Regions from separate parts of the Homo sapiens genome. Here region 1 is linked to region 2. Evidence: promoter capture Hi-C in human tissues and cell types (Jung and others, 2019). All regions are on one chromosome and are shown on one strand. Each heading gives the region's core, a stretch centred on a gene start or on the middle of the fragment in contact. The rest is flanking DNA. Distances are from core to core; before and after follow the strand shown.

Region 1 (6,692 bases), core at 2,274-4,773, 180 kb after region 2:
TGGGAGGTTGAGGCATGAGAATCGCTTGAACCTGGGAGGCAGAAGTTGCAGGGAGCCGAGATGACACCACTGCACTCCGGCTTGGGCAACAGAGCAAGACTCCGTCTCAAAATAAATAAATAAATAAAAATAAAAAATAAAATAAAAAACTTTTGTTCTGTGAAAGACCCTGTAAAAAAGACAAACTAAAGGCTGGGAGGAAATATTTGCAAATCGCATATCTGACAAAGGACTTGTATTTAGAATGTCCAAAGAACTCTTAGACACAGAACACCATCACACCCAATTAGAAGACGCACAAAAGACACGCACAGGCACTTCACTGAAGAGGATACAGGGGTGGCAAATAAGACATGAAAAGGTGTTCAATATCCTTAGCCATTAGGAACATGCAAATTAAAATCACAGTGAGATATCACTGCACACCTATCAAAAGTAGCTAAAATGAAAAACAGTGACAACGCCAAATGGTGAGGATGTGGAGACCCGGATCACTCACGCTCTGCTGGTGGGAATGTAAAATGATACAGACACTCTGGAAAACAGTTTGGCAGTTCCTTTTCAAACTAAAAATGGACTTACCATACGGTAAGCAATTGTACTCCTGGGCATTTATCCCAGAGAAATGAAAACTTATTTTCATGCAGAAACCTGTATGCCTGAATGTACATGTTCACCGCATGAATATTTATAATAGCCAAAACTCGGAAACTACCCAAATGTCTTTTTAAATCTTTTTAAAATATATTTTTAATATTTTAAAAAACTTTATTTCAACCCAGCAGCATAGATTCAAAGTGCCCTGAATATGCACTCCCCCAAATGTCTTTTGATGGGTGAGTGGTTAAACTGTGGTATATCTAGACCACGGAATAAACAGCATAATGAGTGAACTAGAGACTCGCGACAACGTGGATGAACCTTAAGGACATTCTGCTGAGTGAAAAAGACAACCTCTGAAGCATACGTACATCTGATTCTTTTTATCTAACATTCATCATGAAATAACAATAATTAAAAGACAGGTTGGGTGTGGTGGCTCACGCCTGTAATCCTAGCACTTTGGGATGTCCAGGTGGGAGGATGGCTTGAGGCAAGGGCTTCAAGATCAGTCTCAGCAACACAGCGAGACCTTGTCTCTATGAAAGAAAAGAAAAATTGGCTGGGTGTGGCGGTGCATGCCTGCAGTCCTAGCTAATTGCAAAGCTGAGATGGGAGGACTGCTTGGGCCCAGAAGAGTGAGGCTTCAGTGAGCTATATGATCGTGCCATTGCACTCCAGCCTGGCTGACAGAGTGAGACTTTGTCTCCAAAAAAAAAAAAGAGCCTCAGAACAGATGAATGGTGAATGGTTGCCAGGGGTTAGGCACAGGGGGAAGAGATGGGTGTGGCTATAAAAGGGTAGCATGAGGCACCTCGTGATGGTTACACAACACTTCACATGTGATAAAATTGCACAGAGCTACAGACACACACACACAAATGAGTGCATGTATAACTGGTGAATTTTGAATAAGCTGTAGGCCTGTACCCATGTCAACCTCTTGCTTTGATATTGCGTTATAACCATACAAGATGTTAACAATAGGGGAGGCTGCGTGAAGGGTTCAGGTTCACAAGACCTCCCTGTATTCTTTTTTTTTTTTTTTTTTTTGAGACGGAGTTTTTGCTCCTGTTGCCCAGGCTGGAGTGCAGTGCCACAGTCTTGGCTCACTGCAACCTGCACCTACCAGGTTCAAACGATTCTCTCGCTTCAGCCTCCTGAGTAGCTGGGATTACAGGCGCGTGCCACCACACCCAGCTAATTTTTTGTATTTTCAGTAGAGACGGGGTTTCATCATGTTGGCCAGGCTGGTCTCGAACTCCTGACCTCAGATGATCCACCGATCTCGGCCTCCCAAAGTGCAGGGATTACAGGCGTGAACCACTGTGCCCGGCCACCTGTATGTTTTTTTTGGCAACTTCCTGTGACTCAGTAATTATTACAAAATAAAAAGTTAAAATAATAAAGGCAGATACCAAGACTTTAGGAGAAAACAACAACAACAACAACAGTTCCCAAGAGCTTTCGGTAACACCACTGCCACCACCTTTGTTACTGGTGAGTCACTCTGACTGCCATTTCCAACCTCAGCCCCTGCTGTCACCTGGGTGCCCCCACACCCCATGTCCCGCACACACCCGATTCCTCTCTGATTCTCCTGTGTTTCACAGCATCCTGCTTGTTCATATCTGTGGCCTTTACTCTGTTTGGAATGACTTTTTCTCTCCTCTCTGTCGCAGACTCCTATTAGTCCCTCAAACTTCTGTTCAGATGTCACCTCCTCCAGGCAGCCAGTCTAGACCTCCAGTGCTGGGCTGTGTTCCCTCTTCCTCTATTAGAGTGCTCATCAGAGTGCACATGGTTTTTACGATCCTCTCCATCACAGTCAGCAAGGGCTGACTACAGAACCCCCTCGTAATTGAGTATCTCAAATACTCCTCCTGGCACGCCAGAAAGCTCTTGAGACCCTTTGCTGAATGAAAGCTGAATGGTGGCTACTAGAAGAAGAAACAGTGGGCGTGTTTCTCCAATTGAACAAGAGGCTTAGAATCTAACAATGGATGACTGTGGTGACTCTCAGAGAATGGTCCCTGGTGCAGCACCCCGAACCTACCAGGTCAGAAATTTGGGGCTCAGGCCCAATAATCTGTATTTTAACAAGTCCTCCTCTGGGTGATTCCAATGCCTGCTAAAGATTGAGAACCACTGGTTTGGTGGCCTGATCCCTGGTCTTAAGGCAGGTGGTTTCATTTTAACAAACCCACTCACTCCATCCTTTCATCCAATATATACCAAAGATCAGCCATGTGTCGGACTGTGTACTATGTGATGGGAGGTCTTGAAGAGCACGCTTACCCTCTCTGTCTCTCTCTCGCTCTCTTACAGGTGCACATACATGCACGTGCGCAAGCACACACACTCTTAGCTGGCTAATAAGGATGAAGAGTGCTCAAGGCCACAGTCAGGAAATACACAGGAATTGGGGGGCAGTGCCTTGCCTCAAGAGGGAGCTCCAGAGAAGGGTTCTGGAGAGGGGCACAGAAGCTTGAGTTGGTAGGATGGGGGGAGTGTGGGCGAGGAGTGTGAAGCATATTCAGGCCAAGGAAGGAACACCATCAAGGCTCTGAAATACAGACAGTCCCCCTAGGAAGCTGGGAGTGGCCAGTGTGGCTAAAGTGTGGCACTGCACGAGACTCGCAGGGGCCCTGGTGGCCACAGGGAGGGGCCAAAGCTGTGTCCTGAGGGCTCTGGGAGTGGTGGGAGGGTTTGGAGCAGGGGACAGGCATGTTCAGGTATAGAAAGATCTGGCCAGGTGCACGGGCTCACACTTGTAATCCCAGCACTTTGGGAAGCTGAGGCAGGCGGATCGCTTGAGGCCAGGAGTTTGAGACCAGTCTGGCCAGCATGGTGAAAATCCGTCTCTACTAAAAATACAAAAATTAGCTGGGCGTGGTGGCGAGAGCCTGTAGTCCCAGCTACTTGGGAGGCTGAGGCAGGAGAATCACTTGAACCCGGGAGGTGGAGGTTGCAGTGAGCTGAGATTGCGCCACTGCACTCCAGTCTGGCGACAGAGTGGTCTCAAAAAAAAAAAAAAAAAAAAAAGACACAGAAAGATCCCTCTGGCTGTTGAGTGTTGAGTGGAGGGTAGACCAGGGGAGGTGAGATGAAGGCTGGAAGCCCACTGTGGTGGCCTGGGCAAGAGAACAGGGAAAGGAGGAGAGGGTGGGTGACAGAGATGCTCAGGAGGAGGACCACTGCAAGGAGGAGGAGGAAGGGGACATTCACAGGATGAGGGCCACAGCTCAGGCCCAAGGACTAGGATTGATGTGGCTGCCCCTGAGACAGGGACCTGGGGGCAGAGGAAGAACAGAGGGCACGAGGGCTGAAGGCAGCTGGGGAATAAGCTCAGCCGGAGCCAGAGCCTGAAGGGCCTTGAATGCCAAGTTTATCCTGAGGGCACTGGGGAGCCATGGAGGGTTTGGGGAGATCTCTCAGGCTGGTGGGGAGCCATGGAGGGTTTGGGGAGATCTCTCAGGCTGCCAGGTTGCAGATGGACGCAAGTGGGCAGAACTGAATCCTGAAAGATCTCGAAAACTGGGTAATGCTGGCAGCCTGGTCCTAGGGGCTTAGGGCTGGAGAGAGTTAGATGCATGGCCGTGCTGGATAGTGGATGCTCTTGCTTGACAGGTGTCAAGAGAACAGCAATCAAAATTCTGCTGCAAGGAAAGCCAACGATGGGTCCTGCCCAGCCCGGCCCAGTTTTGCTCCAAAACTTGAGACATAACCACCCCATGGGGCTCCTCTGAGGACCTTCAGGGGTCCAGAAACACCATAAAATGGCAACTAGAATTGTGGGGGTGTGCATTTGCTGGGGAAGAAGGAGGCACAGCTTTCATCAGATCCCTTAACATGAAAAGAATTGAGGGAGGCTGACCTTTCTGGGGATGGCTTGTATCTCACGTAGGTGGCCGAACCGGGGGTGGAGAAGCTCCCAGAAGGCTGTCGGTAGGGAGGGACTCTGTCGGCCCCTGCTGGTGATACTGTGTAAGGGGTTTCTGGGAAGCTGACAGGCCTAGAAGGAGACAGGGGAGGAAGGAGGCAGAGGGTGAGTAGGAGGGTACCCCTGCCCTGGGAGGATGGACGGACAGACAGATGGATGGACAGACGGACAGACAGACAGACCAACCGAACTTTCCCCCGCCCAGCCACATCCCTTCTGCTATTCACTGCTCAGGATGAAGGGGAGGATGCTGAGCACAGGGCGAGAGAAGCTGGGATGCTCCTGGGCCCCCTCTTCCCGGATCCACTGCGGCTGCCCGCAACTCACAGCTTCTGCAGGCTGCTCAAGACCATTCTCGCCTCTGCCCCCTGGGGACAAGATGTCCCTCTGCAAGTTGGATTCCTTCATTTTTTGGAAAATTTTCTTTTTATCTTTTAATATATAATATCTTCAAAAGAGTATCTGTTAAGTTATATTTGTCATCATCATAAAACAAACTCCCTGAAGCTACCAGCCAACCCCAGGACTAGAACGGTGGTGCTAACATCTACCTGTGGGCTTCCCCACTTCCCATTTCCCTGCCTCCTCCAGGAAGAAGTCACTGTCCTAAATTTTGTGCTTATCAGTCCCTTCACCTTAAAAATAACAGTTTTATTTTATTTTATTTTTCAGAGATAAGGTATTGCTCAGTCTGGAGTGCAGTGGTGCAATCACAGCTCACTGCAGCCTCCAACTTCTGGGCTCAAGCCATCCTCCCACCTCAGCCTCTTGGGCAGCTGGGACCACAGGTGTGCATCACACCTGGCTAATTTTTAATAAATGTTTTTTATAGAGCCAGGGTTCTGCTATGTTGCCCAAGCTCTCTAACTCCTGGCCTCAAGCAATGCTCCTGCCTTGACCTCCCAAAATGTTGGGATTACAGGCGTGAGCCACCGTGCCCAGCCTAAAAAGCAGAGCTTCAGTCGTCTACTTAGTATAATGGATTTCTAACCCAGAGCTCCCCAGCACTGGGTCCCCAGACAAGAGGCCAACGGTGAAAGCTGAAACGAAGGAGGGAGGGAGGAACAAGGGAGACATAAGGATAAGAAGGAAGGTCGAAAGCTTGAGGCGAGGAAGAGGATGGAGGAAATAGTGAGGAGAGGGAGGGGCGGAGGATGGGTGTGGGCTGGTGGGGGTTGGGAAGTATTGGTCCCCCCAGCAGGTGCTTACCTCTTGCTGTGCAGTGGCTGGGACTCCCGGAAGGGGACTATGGGGGTCTGCTTCAGGGGCCGGCTCAGGGACTGGGCATGGCCGGGAGTGGTTGGAGTGGCCCACTTGGAGGCTGGTAGAGAGTTATGGGATGCGGGCCCGCTCCACTGCCAGGGAGCATTGCTGCGGTAGGGGGGCCGGCCCCCAGGAGTGATGCTTTCCTGCTCCGTCTTGGGCTCCGAGGTATTCATGTCGTAGGTCTCCGGCCAACCCCTGGGGAGAAAAACTGCATTACTCAGAAAGGCCCCAGCCCACCAACACGTGGGCCTGCTGTCTAGGCTGGGTTTTCCTGGCCCAATATAAACCGGGATGGCTTTTTTTTTTTTTTTTTTTTTTTTTGAGACAGAGTCTTGCTTTGTCGCCCAGGCTGGAGTACAGCGGCATGATGTTGGCTCACTGCAACCTCTGCCTCCTGGGTTCAAGCGATTCTCGTGCCTCAGCCTCCTGAGTAGCTGGGACTACAGGCAAGCGCCACTACGCCCGGCTAAGTTTTGTATTTTTAGTAGAGAAAGAGTTTCACCATGTTGGCCAGGCTGGTCTCGAACTCCTGACCTCAGGTTATCCACCCGCCTCAGCCTCCCAAAATGCTGGGATTATAGGAGTGAGCCACCGCGCCCGGCTGGGGATGGCCTATTTTAAAAGTCGAGTGAATACTCCTTAAAATGGTCTGAAACTTACCAGCTCAGAGTCTTCAACCAGGACGGGACCCAACACAGGGACTCCGACTGCCTGGCCCTTTCCACCTCATCTCCTCTTCCCTCCTCCCACTCGAATTCTCTGTTCCCGCCCCTCGCTTCTACCTGACCCAGGCCACACGGCTGCCAGGCCGCCAGTGTCCTCGACAGACCTGCCTGGCCCCCCTTAGCGGTACTCAGGGCCAGAAAGGCGGATGTCCTCAGAA
Region 2 (6,830 bases), core at 4,127-6,626:
CACTTGAACCTGGGAGGTGGAGGTTGCAGTGAGCCAAGATTGTGCTACTGCATTCCAGCCTGGGTGACAGAGCAAGAATCCGTCTCAAAAAAAAAAAAAAGTTTTAGAGATGGATGGTGGAGAGTGATTTGAGTTGAGCAATAACTCCATCTCCCACATGGCATGGCCAGCCTCGTATCTATTAAAAAAAAAAAAGATGAAGGTGATGATGGTAACAATATGAATGTATTTAATGTCACAGAACTGTACCCTTAAAAATGACTAAGATGGTACATTTTATGTTATGTGTATTTTACTATAATAAAAAACTTGGGAAAAGAAATGATCCCAGCCAGGCATGGTGGTTCACACCTGTAACCCCAGCCCTCTAGGAGGCTAAGGTGGGAGGATCACTTGAGCCCAGGAATTTGAGACCAGCCTGGGTAACATAGGAAGACCCTATCTCTACTTTAAAAAATAATAACAATAATAATAATTTTAAAAGGCTCCCCCTGGGTTTTAGCTGGATACATGGCCTTTTGGAATCAGGACGTTCCCTCCTCCCTTGCAGAGCCAGGTGTGGTTCTGTGACTAATCTCTGGCCAATGAGGTATTCATGAAAGAGTCAGGCAACTTCCAGGAAGGGTCCTTAAGGAGCGAGGGATGCCAGTCTCCCTTCTTTCCTCCCTCCTCTTGCTGGCTGGAGCACAGACATGGAGGCTGGAGCTACACAGCCATCTTGGACCATTAGGCGACCTTGGGAATGGAAGTTGCGCAGAGGAGTTAGGCAGGAACACCAGGGTTTTGCTGAGAAGGAGCCTAGGTCTCTGACCATGCAGTACGACTTGGACTGACTACCTGGAATGTGAACAAGAAATACACTTCTTATTTAAGCAACTGTAATTTGAGGTGTATCACTTATGACCCCCAACCCTCATTAATACAAGGGTTTTTGATGGGGAAACTCCAGCAGCCTGGCAGGTTTGCAAATGACATGAAATCCTTATAAACAGGCTGGGTGAGGTGGCTCATTCCTATAATCCCAGCACTTTGGGAGGCCAAAGTGGGAGGATTACTTGAGCCCAGGAGTTTGACACCAGCCTGGGTAACATAGCAAGACCCTATCTCTGTAAAAAAAAATAATAATAATAAAAGAGATCTTTATAAATAGACAAATCATAGAGTTTGAAAAGCATGGGGCCTGTGAGCCTCAAGTTACTATTTCAAAGAGAAGAGTCCAAAACAGTGTTTTGCCATTTACTCCCTGCATGACTTTGGCCAGATGACTTCTCCCCTCTGAGGCTCAGTTCCCTCTCTGCAAAAATGGGCTCGTAAGCAATCCCTTCCTGGCCAGGCAAGGTGGCTCACACCTGTAATTCCAGCACTTTGGGAGGCCAAGGCAGGAGAACCGCTTGAGCCTAGGAGTAGTTTGAGACCAGCCTGAGCAACATAGGGAGACCACCTTCTACAAAAAATAAAAAATAAAAAAATTAGCTGGGTGCAGTGGCGTGCACGTGTGGTTCCAACTACTCAGGAGGCTGAGGTGGGAGGATCACTTAAGCCCAGGAGGTCAAGGCTGCGCCACTGCACTCTAGCCTGGGTGACAGAGCAAGACCCTGTCTGAAAAACAAAAAACAATCCCTTCCTCAAATGTGGTAGTAATCCTACTAGGCTGGGATAGGGCATAGTGCCTAGCAAGAGCGTGGAAAGAGTTACAAGGATTGTAATGCTCACTTCCTCTCTCCGATTCCCAGTTCCGGGTAGGACTACCCGCTTCCTCCTGCCTCAAGTGCAGCAAGGCTGCCCAGATCAATTCCAGGGCCAAGATTTGGGCCTATGACCAAACGAGGGGCATTGTGGGAAGAGGTCTCTCTGAATCACGTTTAATTGGTTTTCCACTTCTCCAGATGCATTCAAGGCTTCACCCACTATGAAAACAGTCAACATTAACTCAATAAACATCAGTTATTACCAGCGCTTCGCACGGACAAAGACTCCCTCCTTGACCGCACTTCAGTCTGACTCCTGAGTCCTTAAGTAGGCCCAGTTTTAGCAAGAATCCTACAAGCCACCCACCCCGATATCTGATCAAATTCCTCATCCACCACTCTTTTTTGTTTGTTTGTTTTGAGACAGAGTCTTGCTCTAACGCCCAGCCTGGAGTGCAGGGGCGAGATCTCGGCTCACTGCAACCTCCGCCTCCCAGGTTCAAGTGATCCTCCTGCCTCAGCCTCCCAAGTAGCTGGGATTACAGCCACGCACTATCATGCCTGGCTAATTTTTGTATTTTTAGTAGAGATGGGGTTTCGTCATGTTGGCCAGGCTGGTCTCGAACTCCTAACCTCAGGTGATCCGCCCGCCTCAGCCTCCCAAAGTGCTGGGATTCCAGGCGTGAGCCAACTTGCCCGGCCTGTTTTTTGTTTTTTTGAGATGGAGTCTCACTCTGTTGCCCTGGCTGGAGTGCAGTGGCACAATCTCAGCTTATTGCAACCTCTGCCTCCCAGGTTCAAGTGATTCTCCTGCCTCAGCCTCCCGAGTAGCTGGAATTACAGGTGCCTGCCACAATGCTCGGTTGATTTTTGTATTTTTAGTAGACGGGGTTTCACCATGTTGGTCAGGCTGGTCTCGAACTCCTAACCTCAGGTGATCTGCCCACCTCGGCCCTCCAAAGTGCTGGGATTATAGGCGTAAGCCACTGCGCCTGGCCCTCATCCACCCCCTCTCAATATCTAAGTCCTTGGCCTGTCTTTAGCAAGAATCTTGTTAAGCTGAGTTTAGCAAGAATCCCCCTACCCGAATGTCTCTCCTCTTAGTATTCTTCCATCCACTGACTCCCTTATTCTACTTGTTAGCCATAAAACTCCAGCTGTGTTTGCTATATTCACAGTTGAGTTCAGTCTCTCTGGCCTTTGCAATGGTCTCTCCTCTACCACAATAACTTTCCATTTTTAACAAGTGTTAGCATATTTTTTTCTTTTACAACACACACAGCACCCTTCTTCTAAGTAGTGTGGTGTGTTGGCTAGCAGCATGGGACTCTAGAGCCTGATGGCCTTGACTAAATCTCTACTCTATGCCGTCTTTGCTGTGTGACCTTAGGAAAGTTACCCAACTTCTCTAGGCTTCGGTTTCCATGGCTAAAAATATACAGCCTATAAAGGCGCCTGCCTCACAAGGCTGTTGTGATGATTAAGTGAGTTAAAGCATGCATTGGCAAGTCCTCTGTCAGGCTACTGCTATTACAGGGAAATGGGGAGTGTTATTATCTCCATTTTAGCAATGGGGGAGGACACTGAGGCCTGGCAATGAGCCGCGGCTGAGCAGGGATGTAGCCAGGCTGTGCCTGACGTGTGTCTGGCTTCCCTCATCTGCCCTGCCAGGGATGACTTCTTAGAAGCCAGGATCTGGGAAGAGGTAGGAGGCGTGCACATGACCCAGGGAAGCTCAGAAGCAGGTCAGGCCGCCCTGGCAGCATGGGCAGACCCAGGGGAGGTCAGCTAACGAGAAGTCACCCAGCTCTGCTGCCAGGGGACCAAAAGCAAAAGCTGCCCCCTATTGTTGGCCGGGAGGGCGAGTTAGGAGTCTGGGCTAACCCTGCACCAGCCTCCTCTCCTCAACAAATCCCCAACAAAGAAACAAAGAGGAAGTCTGGGAGCTGAGAAGGGGCTGGGGGAGCAGCAGAGCCTGGCAACAAAGAGATTTCCCAAGTCTGGCTTCTCAGGGTTTCCCAAAACTCGGGGTCCCTCCACGGTGGGTCCTTTTGACACATCCCTAGCTGGGGCTGCTGAATTGGGAGTCCCAGGTCCAGAGGGAACAGGTGGTGTCCCTATTGGGAGGAAAATCCTGCATTGAGAGTGACCCCATATAGGGGAGATGTCAAGATGGGGTGGGGTACCTAGGGAAGGGTTTTGTGTCTGGGGTCAGAGTTGCCTGCTGGGGAGTATGGGGCCAGGAGACAGATGACAGTCTGGAGCAGAGGCCCAGGTCCAGAGGGCCAGGAGTCCCAGATGGCGGTGCCAGGTCCTTGCTGAGGAATCTCTGTTGGGAGGGAGGTCTTTAGTGAGGACACCCTGAGAGGTCTGGAGATTTAGGGTCCTCGCTAAGGCGCCAGGGTCAGGAGGAGGTTGAGATGGGGTTTCTCCAGGGGGGTTTCCCAGAAGGACATATCTGGAGGGTCAGGAGACATGGCAAGGGTGGCAGGCCCAGACTAGAGATAAAGTCAGGGGTCCTGGCATGGTTGAGTTCTGGGTCCAGAGGGGGCAAGGATCTCCCTTGGAGGGTGGCGTGTCCTGGGTCCTTGCTGGAGGTCTCTGAGGACAGTCCTAGGCTTAGAGGGGGCTGGACAGACCCGGGTCACCAAGAGGATTAAGACCGGGGAATGCAGTCCCAGTGCAGTGGCTCAAGCCTGTAATGCCAGCAATTTGGGAGGGCGAGGCGGGCTGATCACCTGAAGTCAGGAGTTTGGGACCAGCCTGGCCAACATGGTGAAACTCCGTCTCCACTGAAAATACAAAAATTAGCCAGGCATGGTGGTATGTGCCTGTAATCCCAGCTACTCGGCAGGCTGAAGCAGGAGAATAGCTTGAAACCGGGAGGCGGAGGCTGCCGTGATCCGAGATCGTGCCACTGCACTCCAGCCTGGGCGACAGAGTAAGCCCTGTCTCAAAAAAAGAAAAAGAAAAGAAAAAAAAAAAAGACCGAGGAACGGGGTCCCAGCTGGTCTCTGCAAAGGTACTCTGAGGGGAGCTGGGTGTTTCCTACTTAGGAGGAAGGGCTCGGACTTGGGCTCCCCGAGCAGAGCAGATATCATGAGCCTGGGTCCCGGGTCCTCACTGGGGTCTTTTCGGGGGATCCGAAGCCCAGAGGGGATTGGGATAAGGGTATTCGTGAGGGCCCCGGGGTCCCCAGGGGTTAAGGATGAAGTGGGGATCCCGGGTCCTCGCCGCCTTGCGGTGAGGCGCTTACGTACCCACGGTGGTGATCAGCGTGCTGGCGAAGAAGAGAGCAGAGGCGAAGTCCCAGGCGGGGTCCGAGGCGTTGGCGGACCCCGAAGCGTTAGCAAGCACGACCCGCCCCAGCCGTCCGGCCGCCAGCACTCGCTCCACGAAGGCGTCCAGGGCGGGGGCAGCCACACACGGGCTGCGCTGAAGCAGCTGCGCCCGCAGCGTCTCCAGCTCGGCTCGGAGCCTGGCTTCGTGCGGCCCCTCCAGCCGCGCCACCAACAGCGCGCCCAGCACCAGGTACGCGGCGTACGCGGCCAAGGCGCCCGCCAGAAGCGCGCCCCTCCGCATGGCACCCACCGGGACCCCGCGAGCCCTGGGTGGCCCCGCTGACGTGGCCCCCGCCTCCGGACCGTCTGGCACCTAGTTCCAGTTCCGGGAGTGCTACAGGCGCGGCAGCAGATGCCCCAAGAGGAAGAGGAAAAAGGGGAGGTGGGGGGCGGCGACGGAGGAATGCCCCGCCTCCGGGAAACTGAGGCACGCCCAACCGCCAGGTGTTCGTTCGGAGAGGGTGGAGCCCAGTGCTCCCAGACCCAGCAGACCAACGGGATGGAAAGGGTGGAGGTAGTCCTCTCTTCCCCTCATTCCTTCCTTCTCGTCCTCCTGGAAGGCTGGTTCTCTATGTTAGAAGAATCTGAACTTTCCTCTCTGCTCGCAGGCCGAGGAGTCGCCCCCCATCGCGCACAGCAGCTAAGGTTGTGCACTGCATCAGGGCGCGCGGCTGACGGAGCAAGGGGCAAACTGAAATCCAATTCTCGCTCCATTCGCCAAGTTGTGAGCCTCGGAGTGGGAACAGCGGACACCACAGAGTCAGGTGTCCCCTGTGCCCGTGTGGACAGAGTGGGGATCCTCAGCTACTCACCAAAGCTTTGTTCAATGCCCACTTTCTGCTGACCCCTCGCTGGATGATCCTGGAGACTCAGTAATGATGAGACCATCCTGCGCCATGCATTCATGGGGCTCCCAGTCTAACTGGGAGACTGACACAAGAGTGACCCACGCCTGTTGTCCCAGCTACTCGGGAGGCTGAGGTCGGAGGATTGCTTGAGCCCAGGAGTTCGAGGCTGCAGTGAGCTATGCCTGGGAGAGAGTGAGACCCTATCTCTAAAAAAAAGAAAAAAGACAGCCCAGAGTGGTCAGGGCTGTGATGAGGGAAGCAAGGGTACAATGATCAAGCCTGGAATCAGGGAGCCCTAGAGGGCCCTGGGAGTCCAGAGGAAGCAACCACCCCTGCCTAGGGAGGTCAAGAGAGCTTCCTGAGGAAGGGGCTAGCTGAGCTGAAGCATGAAGGATGAATGGAAACAAGCCAGGCAGAATCACAAATACACGCCTCTATTTAAGAGGAAATTTTTCTTTCTGCGCCCCCCCGTAAGTCTCTCCACTTCTGCCTCCAGCCAGAACTCAGCGCCTTCCTGACAGCCTTTTGGAGGGCAGCCCAGAGTCCTAACCCCATCCGACTGGCAGAGGAGTGGGGCTTGGGGCTCAGCTCAGACATGTCCCAGCTGGTTCTATTAAAGAGCTGGCAGATCACCGGGCAGAGCCCAACTTGGGGTTGACAATCCAGAAGCAGAGGCACCTGATAATAGAATCAGTAACACAATAGGTGCCAGTGATCGAAGGCTTACATTCTGCCAGGCCCTGTGGACACCTGAACTTGCACTGAATTCTCAACCCCGTCCCAATATAATTCCCACTAAACAGATGAGAAAATTTAGGCTTAAAAATGAAGTAGTCATTTGAGACCAGCTCGGGCAACATGGCAAAACCCCATCTCGACAAAAAATACAAAAATTAGCCAAGTGTGGTGGCATGCGTCTGTAGTCCCAGCTACTCGGGAGGCTGAGGCAGGAG

What was found. Contacts are between HindIII fragments. The study calls those that stand out against the background at their distance.
Region 1: a contact is called between a fragment that was not itself captured here and the fragment with the promoter of KCNK6 in region 2, in 2 of the 25 tissues and cell types used here (bladder and dorsolateral prefrontal cortex).

Annotation. Positions count from the first base shown.
Region 1 is chr19:38,140,496-38,147,187 of GRCh38, reverse strand. SIPA1L3 (signal induced proliferation associated 1 like 3) reads right to left here. Exons shown (of 22, transcript NM_015073.3): 11 at 5,753-6,004; 12 at 4,478-4,615. Among named protein-coding and RNA genes, the nearest start is that of SNORD152, 19 kb to the left of the region's middle. RefSeq lists an enhancer at 2,808-3,657. The HindIII fragment of the contact is 6,489 bases long and covers 279-6,692 here.
Region 2 is chr19:38,318,391-38,325,220 of GRCh38, reverse strand. KCNK6 (potassium two pore domain channel subfamily K member 6) reads right to left here and starts at 5,376. Exons shown (of 3, transcript NM_004823.3): 1 at 4,949-5,376. The coding sequence starts at 5,270. It also overlaps a transcript of YIF1B not described here. RefSeq lists a silencer at 5,194-5,283 and an enhancer at 4,925-5,548. The HindIII fragment of the contact is 11,421 bases long and covers 1-6,830 here.